2 separate regions of the Homo sapiens genome follow, and region 2 is linked to region 1. Evidence: promoter capture Hi-C in human tissues and cell types (Jung and others, 2019). All regions are on one chromosome and are shown on one strand. The core of a region is centred on a gene start or on the middle of the fragment in contact, and the rest is flanking DNA. Distances in the headings are between cores, read along the strand shown. Region 1 holds the start of BHLHA15 (basic helix-loop-helix family member a15). Region 2 overlaps ASNS (asparagine synthetase (glutamine-hydrolyzing)).

Evidence for each region. Contacts are between HindIII fragments. The study calls those that stand out against the background at their distance.
Region 2: a contact is called between a fragment that was not itself captured here and the fragment with the promoter of BHLHA15 in region 1, in 1 of the 25 tissues and cell types used here (mesendoderm cells).

What each region holds. Positions count from the first base shown.
Region 1 is chr7:98,209,668-98,213,377 of GRCh38, reverse strand. BHLHA15 (basic helix-loop-helix family member a15) reads right to left here and starts at 1,939. Exons shown (of 2, transcript NM_177455.4): 1 at 1,880-1,939; 2 at 1-1,122. The coding sequence starts at 1,068. The coding sequence ends at 499. RefSeq lists a silencer at 1,878-2,067. The HindIII fragment of the contact is 24,836 bases long and covers 1-3,710 here.
Region 2 is chr7:97,858,779-97,862,488 of GRCh38, reverse strand. ASNS (asparagine synthetase (glutamine-hydrolyzing)) reads left to right here. Exons shown (of 13, transcript NM_001673.5): 5 at 3,091-3,276; 6 at 3,534-3,635. It overlaps CZ1P-ASNS (CZ1P-ASNS readthrough), which reads left to right. Exons shown (of 19, transcript NR_147989.1): 11 at 3,091-3,276; 12 at 3,534-3,635. Among named protein-coding and RNA genes, the nearest start is that of ASNS, 12 kb to the left of the region's middle. The HindIII fragment of the contact is 7,001 bases long and covers 1-3,710 here.

The sequences.
Region 1 (3,710 bases), core at 690-3,189:
TGTCCCGGGCCTCAGTTTACCCCAAATGAGGATGCTGAGCCCAGGCCCCATGTAGCCCTATAACAAAGGTTGGAGAGGGGGTCCTTGCTGGGGCTTTGGCCTTGGAAAACCTGCAGGTAAACCTTTTCCTGGGATCTCCCCTTGCCCAGAAGTCAGGGTGAAGAGACGTTAGTTCCAAGGCTAAGGAGGCCTTTCAACTCGGGCTGAGACTGCCTGGCTCAATGAAAAATCAGGATCCAACTGGGCCCTACCTAGAGGTTTGGGCCTCACGCCGCTGTCCAGGGCCACAGCCGCAACTAGGCCACTCGCTGGTCCCCAGCGGGGCAGGAAAAATTGCTCCAGGGAAGTGGCTGAATGTTCGGGGGAAAATGGAACCGCTGAGGCCGTGTCCTTGTGGGGTGTCACCGCCCATCTGGGGCTCGTGGCTTGGAGGGACTGGGGCTGGGAGGAGCAGGCCAGGCAGCTGCGGCCACCGCCACCCCCACCCAGGACTGGGCGCTAGGTGCCCTCTCGGAAGCTGTGGATCTGCGTGGAGTACCTCTGCAGGTGGCCCTGGGGCTGGGCCTCCGTGGCCCCCAACGCACCCCCAGCCACCTGCTGCTGCTGCTGGTAGTGCTGGTAGAGCTTGGGGCCCGGCCCCTCCAGGCCTGGGAGGCGGCTGCTGGACATGGTCAGGATGGTGGCCGTCAGCGATTTGATGTAGTTCTTGGCCAGCGTGAGCGTCTCGATCTTGGAGAGCTTCTTGTCCGCGCGCACGTGGGGGATGACTTCACGCAGGGCCTGGAAGGCGTTATTTAGCTTGTGCATCCGCTGCCGCTCCCTCTCGTTGCTCTCCAGCCGCCGCTGGATGCTGCTGTCACGACGGCCACCGGGCCCGGAGGGTCCTGGCCGCCTGCGCCTGCCCTCGCCCGGAGCCCTTGCTGCGGCCCGGGCCGGCCGGCTCCGCAGACCCTTGGCCGGCTCTGGCCCCGGGTTCGGCAGGGACCCGTCGGGCGTCCCCTCCCCGGGGGTGGCCTCTGTGTCCTGCACCGGGGCCCGGCGCCGTGGGGGCCGGTTCTTGGTCTTCATGGCCCTGGACTGGCTGTCCTAGGAGGTGGCGGCAGGAAGGTGAGGCCCTTGGAGCTGAAATCCAGAACACAGGACACTCTGTGGTCACCCCACATGGGCAGGGGACCCGCTGGGGTGCCGTCCCTGGCAGCCTCCTCCTTGCTGACAGCAATGGTACCAGGGGCAGGGGTTGGCGCTCTGCGACTGGAGGTCCTTCTGTTCACACGCTTAGCCCTGGGCTGACCCCACACACACCCACGCCCTTGCTTTACCTCAAACAGACCTCTGGAATCTGTCCCTGTCCCTGCGTCCCCCTTCCCCCAGGATGACTCATCCTGACCCCTAGATCTTCCTCTGGCTCATGCCCCTCACTGCCCCCAGAGTGCCTCCTGAGCTCGGTGACCTTTGACACTTTGCCTAGAATGCGTCCCCCACCCTAGCTTAGGGGGCGCCTCTGCCGGAGGCGGCACTGACTTCATCCCGTGGGCGGGCAGTGACTCCAGCCACCAGGCTCTCACTGTCCTGCCCCGCTGGACGTGACACGTGCAGGGACAGCACTGGGGCCAGAACCGCTGCGGACATGGGACAGCACTGGGGCCAGAACCGCTGCGGACATGGGGCAGCCGTGGAGGTCAGAGGTCGGCAATGGCCAGGGCCTGGCGGCAGCCCCCAATCCCACCACGTGGATGGGCCCCGTGGAGCCTCCAGACAGACCAGAAGTCCCCCACCCGGGTTTCCCCACAGCCCCCACAACCCCCACAACCCCACCGCCAGGTCCTGCCCCTGGGTCCCCTCCCCGCGGCCCCACCCGAGTTCCCAGCTCCCGGGTTACCTGGGGATCCGCGGCCACACGCGCCGAGGCTGCCCACGGGGGACAAGGACACGTCGCTTTAGCCGCCCCGGGAGGGGCCGCGGACGCATGCAAATGAGCCCTCGGGGCGGGGCCGGGGCGGGGCCGGGGTCCGGGTGTCCCGGCGGGCGCTGGGCAGCAGTGGCGGCACCTGCGGGCGGGCGGGCGGGAGGCCGGCGCCTGGGGCTCCCGGACCAGGTGGCCGCGCAGCCCCGCCCCCAGCTTCCGCCCCGCCCCCAAGATAGAAAACCTCCCCCGCCCGCCTCTCCCCATCCTCCCCCTACTGCCCCCCACCCTCGTCCCCCAAGACAGCCACCCCCGCCCGCCTCTCCCCACCATCCCCCGACAGCCCCCGACCCTCGTTCCCCCAGACAGCCTCCCCCACACGCTTCTCCCCATCCTCCCCCGACAGCCCCCCAACCGCCCCGAGATAGCTTCCCCCCATTCGTCTCTCCCCATTCTCCCGCTACAGCCCCCCCAAGACAGCCTGCGTCCCCACCTCCCCTACTCCCGTCCCCCGACAGCCTCCCCACAACCTGCTTTTCCCCATCCTCCCCCTCAATTTCCACTCGCGCCTTTCCCACCCGCCTACCCCATATCCGTGCCCGAGACAGCCTCCCCCCGCCCGCTTTCCCCGACCCTCCCCCTGACACAGCACCCCCGCATCCATGCCTCCCGCGATCCTCCTTGCCCGGCCTCTCCACTCGTGGCGGGGCCCGGGCCCATTCCGCCAATGGGAAACAGGTCTCTGGGAGCCGCCGGAAGGAGGGGCAGCCCCGATTCAGGCTCAGCACACAGATCCCAAGTCCCAGGAGCACTCCGGGACGAGCCGCTCCGCGAAAACGCGGGCATCTCCCAGGGGATCCCCCGCCCCGCCGCCCGGGATGTTTAGGGGAACCTGGGGCTCCTACGGGCTGGGGGCGGAGCCCGAGTTGGGGTGGGGGTGGGGGGCTCCTTGGGCAGGTGTGCAGTCCTTGGGAACGCCTGTTTTGTTTGTTTGTTTGTTTTTGAGACGGAGTTTCGCTCTTGCTGCCCAGGCTGGCGTGCAATGGAGCGAGATGATCTCGGCTCACCGCAACCTCCGCCTCCCGGGTTCAAGCGATTCTCCTGCCTCAGCCTCCCGAGTAGCTGGGATTACAGGCATGCACCACCACGCCCAGCTAATTTTTGTATTTTTAGTAGAGACGGGGTTTCTCCACGTTGGCCAGGCTGGTCTTCAACTCCTGACCTCAAGTGATCCACCCGCCTCGGCATCCCAAAGTGCTGGGATTACATGCGTGAGCCACCACGCCCAGCCAAAGCAGCATCTTGCTCAGGGACTATTCGGGGCTGCTAGGGGTGCGGTGACTGCACGCTGCTGGGGGTGCGGTGAGTGTCACGCTGGCTGGCAGGCCTGGGCTCCACACTCATGGGTCTCGCCGCTCTGTCTCAGTACCTCTGGGTGGGAACTCAGAGGGGCCATAGTGGGGCGGGGGGCGGGCACAGAAAGGCTAGCTTGGAGCCAAGGTTAGTTAGTTCTTCTCTTGGCCTAAAGCTCATTTGAGGCTGGGCCAAATGAGGTCCTTGGAAATGAAAATGCTTCCGAAATTCATGAGTGCAAAGGCATGGTTTATAGACATGCTTCAAGGTGGCAGGAACACTAAACAGGTTTGGTTTTCCAGTGGTTATACAAAGCTTTATGTCCTCAGGAGTGCGGGGAGTTTAGGTCTGTCACACAAGCTCCAGAGGGACCAGGGCAGGGGCCTGGAACACAGGCTGCGGGCGCTCACAGCAGGGCAGGGCCAGGCCACCCACCCAGGTGGCCCTTGCACGG
Region 2 (3,710 bases), core at 961-3,460, 350 kb after region 1:
TGCTCCACTTATTCTTTCCTCCCGTCCTCTTCCTCCTAACCCCCCAGTCATTACTGATCTTTTTGCTTTCTCTCTCACTTTGCCTTTCCCAGAATGTCGTATAATAGTTGTAATCATATAGTATGTAGCTTTTTCAGACTGGCTTCTTTCACCTAGCAGTATACATTTATAGTTCTTCTGTGTTTTTTCATGGCTTGATAGCTCATTTATTATTATTATTATTATACTTTAAGTTCTAGGGTACATGTGCATAACGTGCAGGTTTGTTACATATGTATACATGTGCCATGTTGGTGTGCTTGCTGAATAATATTCCATTTGTTTGCATGCAATGCAATTTGTTTATCCATTCTTGAATTACCCATTTCTAATTGAGTTATTTTGTCTTTTTATTACTGAATTGTAATAGTTCCTTATGTATTCTAGATACAAATCCCTTCTGTTCATCAGGGTTGCAGGATACAAGATGAATATACAAAAATCAATGGTATTTGACACACTTTAACTGAATACTACATACTTAAAATGAGCAATCAAAATGAAATTAAGAAAGCAACTTCATTTATAATAGCATCAAAAAGAATAAAATACTTAGAAATAAATTTAAGAAGTGTAAAACTTGTACTCTGAAAACTATAAAATGTTGTTGAAAGAAATGAGAGGAGATCTAAATAAATGGAAAAGTATCCCATGATCATGATTTGAAGGCTTAACATTGTTAAGATGGCAGTCCTCCCTAAACTGATTTACAGATTTAACTTGATCCCTATCAGAATCCCAGATGAGTTCTTTGTGAAATCTACAAGCTGACTCTCAAATTCATATGGAATTGCAAGAGACTAAGAATAGCCAAAACAATCTTTTGAAAATGAAGAACAAAGTAGGAGACCTCATATTAACTGATTTTAAAACTTACTACAAGACAATGGTAATAAGGACAATATAATACTGACAGAAGGATAGATGTATAGACTAGTGGGATAGAATTGAGAGTCAGAAATGAACCCATACATATATGATCAACTTATTTTTGACAAGGGTGCCAAGATTATTCAGTGGAGAAAGAAGTTTGAAAACTGGCACAGGGGCAACCAGATATGTAACCATATGCAAAACTTGGAGTTGAATCTTTACCCAACATCGTATACAAAAATTATGGATACAGAAAAATGGATCAGGCCAGGCGCGATGGCTTATGCCTGTAATCCCAGCACTTTGGGAGGCCGAGGCGGGTGGATCACGAGGTCAGGAGATCGAGACCATCCTGGCTAACACAGTGAAACCCCGTCTCTACTAAAAATTAGCCGGGCGTGGTGGCGGGCGCCTGTAGTCCCAGCTACTCAGGAGGCTGAGGCAGGAGAATGGCGTGAACCCGGGAGACGGAGCTTGCGGTAAGCCGAGATCGCGCAACTGCACTCCAGCCTGAGTGACAGAGCGAGACTCATCTCAAAAAAAAAAAAAAAAAGGATCAAATGAATCAGTTTTGAACTAATCCACTTAAATGTAAGGGCTAAAACTATAAAATCCCGAGAAGCAAACATAGAAGTAAATTGTCATGACCCTGGATTTGGCAAAGCTTTCTTAAATATGAGACCAGCAACAATAATAAAAATCAATGAATTGGACTTCATCAAAATTAAACATTTTTGCACATCAAAGGACACCATCAAGAAAGTGAAAAGACGGCCCACAAGTTGGAAGAAAATACTTGCAAATCATGCATAGCACTTTTTGATGGTAAACTTGAGGAAGACATTTATCTTTTATCCCTTACCTGTGCAGCAGTAACATCCTAATATCTCTCTCCCTGCCTCTTTTTGCCATTCTTTAAATTCTTTCTCACTTAATTTTCAGATTTAATATTGGCTGAAGCAGGGATAATGAGATCAATCAAAGGGGTCCTTAGGACACTAGTCACAGTGTTTGTACTAATACTGGAACTGGCTTATTTTCAGGCATTTCTAGTGTGATCAGATGGCAAAGAACAAGCATATATATATGTCAGTTGCCAGGACTGCTGGGAAAGCCTGGTAAAGAGAACACTGGGGAAAAGCAGCCTCCTGCTCCCCTGGGCCTTCTTTGAGCCTGATGATCACTTGATATGGAACTTACCCTCTGAAATTCCTTAATTGTTCTTTTCTATATCCTTGACACTGTCCTTTTCCAGACCAAATTATCTCATCTGGAATACTGCAACAATTTTCTTTTCTCAGTGCTTTTAGAATAACCTGTCAAAATCTCATCTGATTATAGTATTGCCTGCTTAAAACCTTTTAATTACTCCCCATTCCCTATCCGGGTTGTGTAGCTCACTTGAGCTCTGCTGGCTGGTGAGGGAATCTGGGTCCTTTTTCTGGTATTTGAATTCAGTGCTACACAGGTTACTGGCTGGGTAGACAATCTCAAATTGTAAATCACGAGTATTCCATGTAGATAGTCCATTACGATCTACAATAAAACATTGATGTTTGTATCAAAGATCATGGTGATGAGAGGTTGGGTACTGTACTGTCTGTGAGAATTTATTGAGGAAATTTAAGTTATATGGTTTTATTCACATATAGTGTATAACAACTAGTTAAGGGATAGATGTCTTCTTATCTGACTTTAAAGTAGGTAAAAGTGGATCATTGTACTTGTTAAAGGTCTGGGAACCATGGCTGTGTTCTGAAAATACCTCAGTGATGACAAATAAATGACTCCCAGCCTATCATAACATTAGGACTCCAGTTCATCCCTTTGCTTCATAAGTGTGTCTTTTCCTTTTGTGTATTTGCTTTAGTATAGAAAATAGGTTTTCTTGATTAGAAATCTAAGAAGAAGAAATTGAACACTGGAGATTTTTCTATTTCTTTGAATTACGAAAAGTTAGTGTAATTTGGCAGTATATCCCTGTGCCATTATTGTCTCTCAGGTAAGTAGATGGTAGGGCTTAGGAAAATAGAAAATTTTTTTTCCTATTTTGCTTATTTAATGGGTATGTGTTTGTATTAAAAAGGGAAAATAGGAATGTAGATGATGTTAACTAATCGTGAAAGTTATTGGGAAGGGTTACCTAATTTGAATAAAGGTATCATTGTGAATTTCTAGGTCTTGTTACATTGAAGCACTCCGCGACTCCCTTTTTAAAAGTGGAGCCTTTTCTTCCTGGACACTATGAAGTTTTGGATTTAAAGCCAAATGGCAAAGTTGCATCCGTGGAAATGGTTAAATATCATCACTGTCGGGATGTACCCCTGCACGCCCTCTATGACAATGTGGAGAAACTCTTTCCAGGTAGCAGACACCCACCCACCTATTCCCCATCCTTCTCCAAGGGAAAAAAATTTTAAGTTGTATTCTCCCATCATTTGAATGATTTTAGTTTCAAGACCTACTTCCTATTTTGTTTGGAGGGAACACATTAAGATTTGGCACACTCCACCATTGAGTAAATACCATCATGATAGATGTTGATGATTGTGTATTTCATTTCAATAACTAATCCAGCCCAAGATTTTCTGGAGCTGTTTGATTTACTGCTGTGTTTATAGGTTTTGAGATAGAAACTGTGAAGAACAACCTCAGGATCCTTTTTAATAATGCTGTAAAGAAACGTTTGATGACAGACAGAAGGATTGGCTGCCTTTTATCAGGTGAAGTCAATTAAAAAAACCTAATTATATTTCATGTGTGTTTAATTGAAATGATTTGTAGCCATCCCTTTGGTT